Linked DNA regions of Homo sapiens: regions 2 and 3 are each linked to region 1. Evidence: promoter capture Hi-C in 16 types of primary human blood cells and fetal thymus (Javierre and others, 2016). All regions are on one chromosome and are shown on one strand. The core of a region is centred on a gene start or on the middle of the fragment in contact, and the rest is flanking DNA. Distances in the headings are between cores, read along the strand shown.

Region 1 (4,238 bases), core at 1,249-3,748:
GCAGCACACTTTCTGAAACAAGCTAATCACCCATATGAACAGAGAATTGGTTAATAAATTATGATACAGCCATACTGAAAGATTACTATTCTACTCAAAAGCACAAAAAGTATAAGGGAATTCTTGATGTATTGATAAGGAACAGTCTCTACAATGTATGGGTTAATTAAAAAAATCAAGGTGCAGACAGGGTTTTCATTGTGTGATCTCCGTGTAAGAAAAGAACAAACCTCATCTACACACATTTGCCTGTATGTGCACTGAGCTGGTAGCCTAGAAGAGACAGGGGACAGTGGCCATCTCTAAGGAAGGGGCACTGTATGCCTTTGACAGGGTGGGAGAGGCTTTTCACAATGAGGGGCTTTTAACACACTTTTGAATTTTGAACCATGGAATACTATGCCTGGTCAAAACCAAATTAAATTCCAATAAAAAAGCTGAAGGGCCCCAGGTAGGCCTGGGCAGCCTCCCTCAGCGTCGCCCTGTGTGAGATCTTGGCAAATGCATGCAATTCCACTAGGGCAGGCATGTTTCATCCAGGGCCTAGCGCCAGCTGACCACCTCCTTGGAGCCCAGCCTGGCATTTGTGGTCAGAGGGGTGCTGAGAGAAGCTCACCTTCACGGTGACACCTTCCTCATGGTCTGTTGTGGGTTGAACTGTGTCATCCCAATTCGTATGTTGAAGTCCCAACCCCTACTGTCTCAGAATGTGATCTTGTTTGGAAATAAGGTCTTTGCAGCTGTAATTCACTAAGCTGAGGCCATTCTGGAGCGGGGTAGGCCTCCAATCCAATGTGATGGGGTCCCTGTAAAATGGGGAAATTTGGACACAGACACACACAGGCAGAATTCCACATGGGCAGGAAGGCTGAGATGGGAGTGATGCTTCTACAAGCCAAAGAGCACCAAGGATTGCCTGCAAAGCTCTGGAAACCAGGAGAGAGGCCCGGAATGGGTTCTCGCTCAGAGCCCTTGGAGGGACCTAGCCTTTTGGACAACTTGATCTCAGACATCCAGCCCCCAGAGCTTGAGAAAACAAATGTCTGTGACTCCAGCCCCCCAGTTTGTGGTGGTGCTTTGTTACAGCAGCTGCAGGCAATCCATATGCCTTGTTTCAAGGGAAGTAGGCAGATCTATGACTCCTGCCTAGTGTTTGGTTTAGAGCTACCTTAACCTGTGAGGGAGCTGGACAGGCTCCGAAGCTGCCCCTGACCTCTGAGAGTGCCCACCCTGGCCCGGTACTTACTGTCATTGGTCATGTTCTTGGAGACTATAGTGGACGGTATCTCAGACATCTTGGCTGAGGCCCAAGAGGTTGATGCAAGGCTTCTCCTCTTCTAAAGGAGATCCTCACCTGAGGAGTGACACAGTGCTTGAGCCTGGTGGTCCCCAAGCCCAGAGCTTCCTTCCCCCTGGGTGGCTGACAGCCACCGACATTTGCTGAGGGCTCACCTTGTGGGGACACCTGCCGGCTCCCTGCCTCTCCCACCCGAGGGTCCACTCTCACCTCCTGGACTTGGCTCTAGCTGCCTACTTTTTCTGTGCTTAGAACACATCAATCTTGGCCTCAAGCCTTTGCATTTTCGGCCTCCTCGGCCAAAAAATATTCTCCCATACCCAGCTGGGGGTGCTGGGCTTCCTTCTCTTCAATTCCGAGCTCAAATGTCACCTCTTTAGAGAGACCTCTCACCATCCCATCCAAAGTGGTTTCTTCCTCCCCACCCCCATGTGGCCTTTATTTTCTTCTCTGCAATTCCCACTATCTGATTATCACTTTAAAAATCCATTCGTTGTCTATTTCCCCCTAAAATGTGAGCTCCATGAGAACAGGGGGGTCTTTTCTGCTCATCCAAGCTCCTGACATACCCTTGGCACTTCTTAACTTCATCCATTGAATGAATTTTCATTTTTGCAGGGGAGGAAGCAGAGATTCAGCGAGGTGTCCAAAGTCACAGTCAGGAGGGGCTGCCTCTGGAAAGGGCCCCCACTCTAAGCTTGTGCCATTCCTGCCGCATTCCTGCTGCAGCCCCCTATTGGGTGAGCCTGGGGTTCGCAGGGTCGCCTCCTAACACCCGCGCTCTGCAAGGCCCCGAGCCACACAGCGAGGTGCACAGGGATGGTAGGACAGATGGGGTGGATGGTAGATGGGTGTGTTTCAAGCAAGTGGCATGCGAGCGGGCAGCCTTGGAAGGCGCCTTGCAAGTCCGCTCCCGGCCACGCGCGCCCCTCGGGCCCTGGTTTCGCACCCCTGCCGCCGCCCCCACGCGCCCTCACGGACCCCGCGCGCCCCCTCTCCCCGGACCGCGAGCGCACCCACCGACCCCGACTGCCCCGGCTCGCTCCGAAGCCTCCGCGCTGCAGTTCTCAGCTCCAGGAGCAGGGCTCTTGGGTTTACGTCTCCAAGGCAACCATTCTTCAGGCTGGCTGTGACGCCACAAAGGCCGCGGAGGCTGGGCGCTTGAGGGCTGGGCCTGCGGGCCGCGGGACAGGGAGGGCGCGGGGCCGGGCTGCTGGGTCCGAGCTCTGGGCACGATGTCCTCCCTGACGCCGCCAGGACAGCGCCTGGCCCAGGCCTGGGCCTGGTGAACGCGGGTTTCTTCCTCTGAGGTTCAACACTCCGCACTTGGGTTGGCTCCTTTCATCCTGATTGGTTTATTCGCCACGTGCCAAGCACTGAAGAGGGCGTGCAGGATGGATACTTTTGGAGCAAAAATAGCCCTGCTTCTTTCCTGGGGAGGGATCGCACTTTCTAGAGGGGCGGTTTTCAAAGTATGGTCTCAGGACTAGCAGCATCGAAAATGCTGGGAACTCGTTAGAAAAGCAAGTTTTCAATCCTCGCCCCAGAATCAGAAACTCGGGGTGGAGCCCAGCAATGTGTGTCCTGACAAGTCCACGCGCGACCCCAGTGCTGGCTAGGGTTGCAAAGCCACTGCTCTACGGAGCGAGCGAGATCCATCATAGTGGGACAAGCGAGAGGATGAGGCCATACAGACCAGGGCAAGTTTTGAGCGCGCAGATCCACCAGCTGCTTGAAGCCAGGGGCACCAGGATGTCTGGTCCCCCAGCTCAGGGATCCTGTCTCCCCACAAAAAGCAGCAGCAGAAGACCCCTCTTTGAGTTCTGAACATGTTCCTAGATTTTCCCAGTATCTATGGGGATTGAGAGATTGATAAAGGCTGCTTGGAGCTGAAAGCACAGTCAGTGACTCATCTTTTCAGGGACATTTAGGGGCTTCTGGGGGGACTCTGGAGCAGTCTGCAGCCCAGCAATGTAGTCCCAGTGAGGATCCCAGCTGTGCCAGGCTCTGCCTAAGGCCGGTGTAGTGGGTGGGAAGACCACATCCACAACAGGAACTCCATTGGAGCTGGGGGTGGGAGTGAGGAGGAGCTCCCAAGATGGAAGGAGCAGGGATCCCTGAATCTTCGCTGGTAGAATAGTGTCCCAACTTGCAATATCCACAGTGGGCTTTGCACAAGGGAGGAAGAATGTTGTATTGTGTTAAGCCACATATGTGATTTGTGCATGTGTGCATGTGCACATGTGTGCACATGTAGTGTGTGTGTGTGCATGTGTGCACGTGTGTGTTCGTTACAGCTGCTATTGTCAAATGTGCTGAAAGACAAGTTGTCCCTTTACCCTTAGGAGAGAGGCTCCTTACACTGACATTCAAAGTCCTCAATGACCCGGCCCCAGCCTACCTCTGCAGCCTTATCTCCCTACAAACCATCAAAGCAGAACAAAAACCTGTCCCTCCGATTTAGGTTTTAGCAAACCACAAGAAGCACTTCATAAACTGGTGACTCAAGTAGAAAAGTAAGTGTTTTTGTAATGGTTTATCTAAATACAAGGTGCTCTAATGAGACTTTTAGGAAGCTAGAACATAAGTGACCCAAAGAGAACAAAGGTACCCAGGCTCCTGCCCATTCATTGTCATCAACAGATCAGTTTATGAACAGTCGTGAATCTCCCCATGAACCTTACAGAGTGTTTTCTATGTGCCAGGTACTGTTCCACGCACTTGACACCAATCCACCCATTTCACCTGCATGATCACCCTGCCTTTGCATGAGTTGCCGGTGTGGACAGAGCAGGGACACAGTGAGACAGCGGATTCCAGCTTTGCTCTTACCTAGAACACACTGCCTCTCACCAGGAATCGTCCTTCCATTTTATGCAGTTATCCCAGACAATGATGCACAAGCTTTGGGAAAAAAACCCCACAAGTCCAAAGGTGTACT
Region 2 (4,238 bases), core at 1,139-3,638, 150 kb after region 1:
ACCCTCAAGCCTAGAAACCCGAGGCCCTAAATGGGAACAGGCAGCCCTGTTTTCATGCCCAAAAGTTGCCTTTTGGCCTGCCATGTCCCCCTATCTGGTATCCATATAAACCCTAAACTCTGGACTCCAAGAGCAGATGAAAAGAAGAGCAGAAAAGTGGCAGAACAGTGAGGCAGAGAAGGAGAGAAGAGAAGGAGCATCTGAACATCTAGAGTTCAGCTGGGGACTGTCAGAGAGAAGATCAGCCACTGGACGGCCAAACTCCAGGGGAAGATCATCTTCCCACTTCATCCCCTCTCCAGCTTCCTATCCATCCCACTGAGAGCCACCTCCATCACCCAGTAAAATCCCCACATTCACCATCCTTCAAGTCCATGTGTGACCTGATTCTTCCTAGATGCTGGACAAGGACCTGGGTACCAAGAAGGCACTGAGCTGGTTAACACTTAAGCTGTCTGCAGACAGTAGGGCTAAAAGAGCACTGTACCATGCCCACTGGGGCTTTGAGAGTCACTCCACATGTCTAGGCAAACATCCCTAGATGCCACTGTGGGTCTTAAGCCCAAAAGCACTCACCCTGGCTCCTGCACCTGCCCATCTGCATGCTCCCCCTCCTGTAAGGGGTCTGAGTAGTGGCAGCGGCTGAACAGATGAGCCACACCCCTGTTGTACATCCTGCAAGTGGGTCAGGGAACTCTTTCATTCTGGTATTTTTCTTTTAAAAAAAAATTAACCTCTTGGTTTCCAGTATTAATTAATAAGTTCTTTCTTGCCCTCTAGGGTGGTCATGTAATCTTATAGATTTTTTCTTGCAGTATTTCCATTATTTTGCTTCTTAAGTTTAAGTCATTAGTATATTTGGAATTTAATTTTGTATATGGTATAAGATGAGAGTCCAATGTAATTGTTTTGCAAATGGACAGCTGGTTGTGCCAGTACCGTTCATTAAACAATTTCCCATTTTCCCACAAAATTGAACAACGATCTCTGTCATATGTGAAAATTCTACGTCTGTGTATACACACATACACATATATATGTATGTATATTAGGATCTTACTTGCTGTTTCATTGACCCATTTGTCTCTTCCTACATTAAGGCCATATTGTCTCAATGACTACGGTTTTACCCTATGCCTTTGTTCCTAGTTAGGCAAATCTTCTCATTGTTATTGATCTATTTTATAACTTTCATTTGCCATCCTTGGTATCTGTTTTTCCCCATAAACTTTAAGATCATCTTAACCAATGGAGAGAAAAATGTTGTTGGGATTCTTGCTAGAATTGCACTGATTTTTAATATTAATTTTAGAACAATTGGCATTTTGATGCTATTCAGTTTTCCCATTCAAGATTATGGTTGTTTTCTATTAGTTCGGTTCTTGCTTTATGCCTTTCAATAAGGTTTATTAATTTTCTTTATAGTTTCTATACTTTTCTTATAAGTACATTCCTAAATTTTTGAAACTTTTTAAGAAAAAGAGTAGTTTTATTTAATATCACATTCATCCATCTTAAATGTTCTTATTCCACCCAGAAGATTTTTATAACAAGTTTATTGAGGCATAATTTACCTACTAAAAAATGTACTCATTTAAAATGTACAACTTATAACTTTCAGTAAATTTACAGAGTTACACAAACATCACTCCAATCCAGTTTGCATTTCCTCATTCCCAACTCCAGTCTAGACAAGCACTGATTTGCTCTCTGTCTCTACGGTGTTGCCTCCTTAATAGGTTATTGGTTTTCTATATATAATTGTATCATTCTGAGCAGAGGTTATTTTATCTCTGCCTCCAATATTTATTAGTCCATTTTCATGCTGCTGATAAAGACATACCCAAGACTGGGAAATTTACAAAAGAAATAGGTTTAATGGACTCACAGTTCCACATGGCTGGGGAGGTCTCACAATCATGGCAGATGGTGAAAGGCATATCTCACATGGCGACAGACAAGAGAAGAATGAGAACCCAGTGAAAGGGGTTTCCCCTTATAAAACCATCAGCTCTCATGAGACTTATTCACTACCATGAGAACAGAATGGGGGAAACCACCCCATGATTCCATTATCTCCCTCTGGGTCCCTCCCACAACACGTGGGAATTATGAGAGCTATAATTCAAGATGAGATTTGGGTGGGGACAGAGCCAAACCATATCACAATGCTTATAGAAATTATTCCATGTTCTTATTTCATTGCATTCACTACAACTTCCAAGACAATGTTGAATAATGGTGAGAATGAGTATCCCTCTGTAGTTAATGGTTTAATTAAAATGATGTTAGTGTTTTGTAGTTCAAAATAATACTTGCTGTTAATTTTGGTGGACCATCTTTATTAAGTAGTTTTCCTTGGTTCCTGGAGTTTTTATTAAGAACAACTGATAAATTTGGTTAACTGCATTTTCAGCTTGTGCTAATAAAATAATGCTTTTATTTCTTAGGTTTTCCTGATATTAAGCCACTTTTTCATTGTTGGAATAAACCCTGCTTGATAGTGTACCATTTTTTGAAACATTACTGATTTGTTTCACTAATGTTTTATTTAGAATTTTTACATCTATATTCAGAAGTAAAATTGGTGTATAGATTTCTTATATTTCTTTTATACAATTTGGGTGTTAGAGCTGCTGACTTGTTATAATGAATAGGAAAATTTTCCCTTTTTATGTAGGTTGACATAGTTTAAATAGCACCAGAATGATTTGTTTATTGATCCTACCTGGCTCTGGTGCCTTATTCAAGGGGAGATTTCCTATCACATTCTCAGTCTCTTCTATGGTGGTTTTCTATTCAACATTTCCACTTCATTTGTATGAAGTTTTATAATTTATTTTTTTCTAGGAAATCATTCATTTCATCTAGATTTTGAAATTTGTGCCATGGGTGTATATTTAGCTTTCACCTATAATTATTTTTCTCTCTCCTGTGACTATCTTCTCTTATTTTTATTTCTATTTTATGTTTTAATAATTTTATCTTTAAATTAAATTTTTTTGTAGCGATAAGGTCTCACGATGTTACCCAGGTGTTCTCAAACTCCTGGCCTCAAGTGATTCTCCCACCTTGGCCTCCAAAAGTGCTAGGATCACAGGCATGAGCCACCATGCCTGGCCTCATCTTTTATTTTTACCAATTCTCTCTTCCTTATTTCTTCTGTTTTCTGGAGTTTACAGCTGAGTCCTTCCTTACTTCCTTCATTTTCTGATGTTGTTATGAAGTGCTCCCCTTTGGGTTGCTTTTCTTTTAGTCTGCACTCTTTATTCTGACCACCCCCATGATTCAAGTTCAGCTGGGAGCACGTTTTTTAACATATATATATATATATAACTTTTGGTCCTATTTTTATTAGCTGTTTCTAATATTATTGAATCCTGATCAACAAAATTTCTTTTTATTTTTGGACACAAGGATTTCATGGTAAATTCCTTTAAATGTTTAAGGGATATAGAAAAAGTACATTCTCCCTTCTAGAGATGTAAGATTATTTATCTATATAAATAGACACACAAGGATGCAACACACACATATGTATGTATAATCACATTTGATTCCTCTTTTTATTTAAAAAATTGAGATGAAATTCATATAGCATAAAATTCAACATTTTATACAGTGTACAATTCAATGGCATTTAGTATGTTTAGTACAAGTTTCAAAACATTTTCATCATCCCTAATAAAACCATGTACCTGTGAGCAGTCACTTCTCAGCTGCTCCACACTCCCAGCACCTGGCCAAAACCCATTTGCTTTCTGTCTCTATAGATTTGAATATTCTACCTGATATGGTTTGGCTGTGTCCCCACCCATATCTCATCTTGAATTGTCGTTCCCATAATACCCACATGTCCTGGGAGGGACCAGGTGAAAATACTTGAATCATGGGGGAGGTTTCCCTCATCCTGTTCTTATCCTAGTGAATTAGTTCTCGTGAGAGCTGACGGTTTTATAAGGGGTCTTTTCCTGACCTCTGCTCTACATTTCTCCTTGCTGCCATCATGTGAAGGACATTTTTGCTTCCCGTTCCATTATGATTGTAAGTTTCCTGAGGCCTTCCCAGCCCTGCAGAACTGTGAGTCACTTAAACCTCTTTCCTTTATAAATTACCTAGTCTCAGGTATGTCCTCCTAGCAGCATGAGAATGGGCTAATACAGTAAATTGGTACCAGGTAATGGGGTAATGCTGTAAAGATATCTGAAAATATGGAAGCAATTTTGGAACTGGGTAAC
Region 3 (4,238 bases), core at 1,140-3,639, 130 kb after region 1:
CTGCATGGCAAGCTCCAGTCTACAAAGTCCATCTCCAAACGCCATCTCATCTTGCGAATGCAGTGCCATCACCTCCATTGCAAGGATGAAGTCATCCAGGACCAGAAGATGCACCTGGCTGGCCAACGTCAAATAATGGATTGACGGAAGGGGCCGGAGTTAACCAGAACAAGATGCCCCAAGCAAGAGCCATGTCTCCATGGACATTGCCGGGCCGGCCTTCTTTCATTTCTCCTCCTTGGAGGCAACACAGGTAGGGAGCCACCCCAGGGCCCTGGCACCACTTCTGTGCCCAGCACTGGGGCTAGGATGATGCACTTGAAGATGAGAGGTCACTCCCTGCCGTGAGCGTCTTAGGGCCTCTAGCCTCATCCCTTCCAAGCTTCTCCATGGATAGAGACCCAACCTGGGATCCTGCTTTCCAGGAAGGTCTGCCTCTTTCTCCCAGTACCCAGGGTCTGGATCCTCACACCCTGGGGTGACAGGGCCCACTTATAAGAAGGAGCTGCCTGTTAGGTGTGGCATGTCCCCACATCTTCAGTACTCTGTAAGTCTCTTTCCCTCCCCTAATTTCATGAGGTGGCCCTAGTGCCACAATCTTGTCTCTTCTACACAGATGCTGTGTAGATGGTGTGAGCCCAGAATTGGGCACAGACATTTTGGGTGGATTCTAGTTTGTGTTGACCTGAAAGCAAGGGGCCAGGAGGGGCATGAGCGTGGCAGGACTCAAGCCAACTCACTCTACCTATGCACAGATGGAAAAAAGGGGACATACCAGAATTCCTCTTGGGACAACACTGTATTTATTTGGAAGAAATAACACCTCTGGGGCTGGGGCATCTCTAGGGCTTGCCCAAGTCATGGAAGTTGGTTGATAAGGCCCTTCCAAGGAGGGCAATCCTCTTAATGCAAGCATTGTGCACTTATGGGAGCCATGATAGATGCGGGAATGATTGTTAAAGCAGAGACCAGAGTGGAACTGAATTGCTCTGCATAATAGAGGGAAGTTCCTCCTCCTGAGGAAGAAGAGGAGGAAGAGGAGGAGGAAGAGAAGGAGGAGGAGAGACAAAGGGGGCTAGTACTGCCTGGAGGGAGTAGGAAACATTCGATGGTACCAAGGGAGTTAGGAAATGCTTACGGGGATCTGAAACGAAGGTGAAGTGTTCAATACACACCCAATTCCCTTCCCCTGCAAAATATGCATTTAGGCTTACATCATTTCTAGATGCTTTGTCCACTTGGTTATTCAGTGCAATGGGTGGGGGAGATCTGAAAGGGTGCTGCCTTTTCAATTTTGGTTGACCTATGGTTAAACCTTGAGATGCTGATGGTAAGCCCTCTGTGTGGTCTGCAGATGAGGCTAAATCCCAGGCCTAGTGTGTGCAGCCGACCTGTGCACTGCATGCTGCCCTGGCCACACCTTGAAGGAAACTCTGTCATCTATCTCCTCTGTGACTTTAGACAACTTCGCTGTCCTCTCTGAGCCTCAGTCTACTCATCTGTAAAATGGGGAGTGCATTAGTTTCCTGCTGCTGCAGTAACAAATAGCCACAAACTTAGTGGCTCCAAACAACACACACCCACTCTCTAATGATTCTGGAGGTCAGAGGTCTGCGGTGGGTCTCACTGGGCTGAAATCAAGTTGTTGACAGGGCTGCATTCCCCCCTGGAAGCTCTGTTTCCTTCCCTTTTTCCCTTCTAGAGGCTGCCTGTACTCCTTGGCTTCTGGCCCCTTCCTCCACATCACCTCATTTCCACTGGCTCGCCTGCCCTGCTTTTTCATATTTAAGGACCTTGTGTCCACCCGGGTCATCCAGAATGATCTGCCTACCTTAAAGTCAGTTGCTTGGCAACCTTAATGCCGCCTGCAAATTTTATCTCCCTTTGCCATGTAAGGTGACATATTCCCAGGTTAGGGAGATCAAGACATGGACATTGCTGAGGGGCTGTATTCTGTTTCCCACAGGGAGGAGAAGTGAACCAACAGCAAAGTGTTTCTCAAACACAAGAGAGAGAGTGCAATGTTAGCTTGGAGAGGGCTGGACTCATCAGGTGATGCTGGGTAGAAAGGAAAAGCAGACTCCATCTACAACGACAGCTGAAGGGAATGACAATATTGTCAGCAGATGCTAGGGCAAGGACACGCCTCGGCAGTAGATAAGCCAGCTGGGACACGGGCTCAGGAAAAGGGGTGGAGGTCCCTGAACTGACTGGGATTTTGGTTAAATTAAAATAGAAAACGGAGACAGATTAATTTGAGCAACAAATTGCATTAAAATGACATGCGCACCTTTGTGGGCTAAAACTCATCCTCACTGCATATAGGTCTTTGGTTTGTGGAAACAAATCTAAGTTTGAAATGTGAACATCTTCTAGCTTATTTTATTTTATTTTGCCTTATATTTTGAGCACAGGCCTGGATTTGGGGGCATTCAGCTTGGGGGTCCAGAGGGCTCATCCTAGAGAAGCTATGGAGAGCCGATCTTCATGGGCCTTTTCTGCTGGGGCCTTGCCTGGGAGCCCCTGGCTCTGAGACAGGGTGGCCCAAGCTGGGCTTGGCGGGAGTGAGGGGGGCACGAGAGGAAGTGGCGGTGGCCACATGCTAGTGGCTGGAAAGAAAGCTCTGACAGCTTGGGCCTTGCTCTTGGCAGGAGGGTCTCAGACCCCCCAGCCCCACCTTGCCCGCCAGAGAACAGTTACTCAAGAGGCAGCAGAAAGCCCTGGGGTGTGCTGAGTTTTGTGTTGGCCGGGCCACTGAGATGATGCAACTCCACTCTGCATTGTGCAATGAGATGAAAGGGCCACCAGGGAGGGCGCACACACAGGGGCTTTGCATCAGCCACACATTGAACTGGGTCACAATCAGTTATACACACAGACAGTCTAAGATTCAGAGGAAAAGGAAGACATAAAACTCACACCCTGAGAGCCCAGGAGAGACCAGTGAAAAGGAGGAGGAGGGGGAGAAGGAAGAGGAGGGAGGGAGGAGGGGGAGAAGGGAGAGGAGAGGAGGGGGAGAAGAAAGAAGGGGAAGTAGGGGGAGGAAGAGGGGAAGGGGGAAGAGATGGGGAGAAAGAAGAGGGAAGGAAGGAGAGGAGAAGGAAGATGAAGAGAGGAAAGAAGGGTGGGGAGGAGGGGGGAGAAGAAGGGGGAAACGGGAGAAGGAGTGGGAGAAGAACAGGGAGGAAGGGAAGAAGAAGGAAGGGGGGATAGAGGAAGGGGAGGCAGGAAGAAAGAGAGGGGTAGGGGAGGAGGAGATGTGGAGAGGAAAGAGGGGGAGGGAGAGGGGGAGAAGAAGGGGAGGAAGAGGAGAGAGGAAGGGGAAGATTACAGGAGGGAGGAGGTTAGGCAGGAGGAGGGGAAGGAGGAGGAGGGGAAGAAGATGGGGGGAGGAGGAGAGGGAAGAGGGAAGGGAGGAGGGAGAGGAGGACAAGGAGGGTTTGGGTTAAGGTTAGGCTTGGATTAGGGTTAGGAGGAGGGAGAGGAGGACAAGGAGGGTTTGGGTTAAGGTTAGTCTTGGATTAGGGTTAGGAGGAGGGAAAGGAGGACAGGGAGGAGGGGAGAAGGAAGAGGGGGAGGGGGAAGAGGTGAAGAGAAAGAAGCGAGGAGGGATGGGGAGGAGGAAGAAAAAGATGTGGAGAGGGAAGGGGCTAGAGGGAGGATGGGGAAGAGGAGGAAGAAGAACAGAGGGGGAAGAGGAAGATGTAGAGAGGGAAGAGGGGGAGGGAGGGGGAAGAGAAGGGAGGAAGGGGAAGAATAGAGGAGGGAGGAGGGAGGTAGGAGAGGAAGAGGAAGGAGATGTGGAGAGGGAAGGGGGAGGGAGAGGAAGAGGTGGAGAGGGGAAGAATGGAGGAGGGAGGAAGAGGGGAAAAGGAGGAGGGGAGGAGGGAGGAGGGAGGAGGGAGATGTGGCACTCATGCTAGGTGCTCTGCCACAACGGATGGAAACCTGGCACCTCCTGCCCCACAGTAGGTCTCCGTCCTGGATCTCCACTGTCACCCTGAGGCTGACGCTAGTGTGTAAAAATAGGTATGGCTCACGCAACAAGGTCCTGAAATTCTCCGCTGAGCTACATAAACAGCGATCCGATCCAAGGGTGGAGGAAAACCCAACAGCGTTGACTTTGCGAGGCCCATCGCTCTCTGTGTGGCAAGTTATTAAGGCGTTTCTAGTGGTTTTGGGTTGTCTGTGCCCCGTCTTAGAACCTGAGCCATGGGGGCACGGCCGTATCCCCCGAC

Evidence for each region. The method cuts DNA at HindIII sites, captures the fragments that hold promoters and counts their contacts. A CHiCAGO score of 5 or more calls a contact.
Region 2: a fragment that was not itself captured here is called in contact with the fragment with the promoter of CFAP100-DT in region 1 in 1 of 17 cell types (M2 macrophages); the score reaches 5.7 in M2 macrophages.
Region 3: a fragment that was not itself captured here is called in contact with the fragment with the promoter of CFAP100-DT in region 1 in 3 of 17 cell types (endothelial precursors, megakaryocytes and M2 macrophages); the score reaches 10.7 in endothelial precursors.

What each region holds. Positions count from the first base shown.
Region 1 is chr3:126,393,058-126,397,295 of GRCh38, reverse strand. CFAP100-DT (CFAP100 divergent transcript) reads left to right here and starts at 2,498. Exons shown (of 2, transcript NR_103789.1): 1 at 2,498-2,997; 2 at 4,003-4,238. CFAP100 (cilia and flagella associated protein 100) reads right to left here and starts at 2,387. Exons shown (of 17, transcript NM_182628.3): 1 at 2,318-2,387; 2 at 1,247-1,354. The coding sequence starts at 1,295. The HindIII fragment of the contact is 2,207 bases long and covers 1,997-4,203 here.
Region 2 is chr3:126,239,728-126,243,965 of GRCh38, reverse strand. The region is part of intron 1 of LOC124909426 (a long non-coding RNA gene); the gene reads right to left. Among named protein-coding and RNA genes, the nearest start is that of ALDH1L1, 61 kb to the right of the region's middle. The HindIII fragment of the contact is 5,873 bases long and covers 1-4,238 here.
Region 3 is chr3:126,259,699-126,263,936 of GRCh38, reverse strand. No RefSeq gene overlaps it. Among named protein-coding and RNA genes, the nearest start is that of ALDH1L1, 81 kb to the right of the region's middle. The HindIII fragment of the contact is 4,010 bases long and covers 385-4,238 here.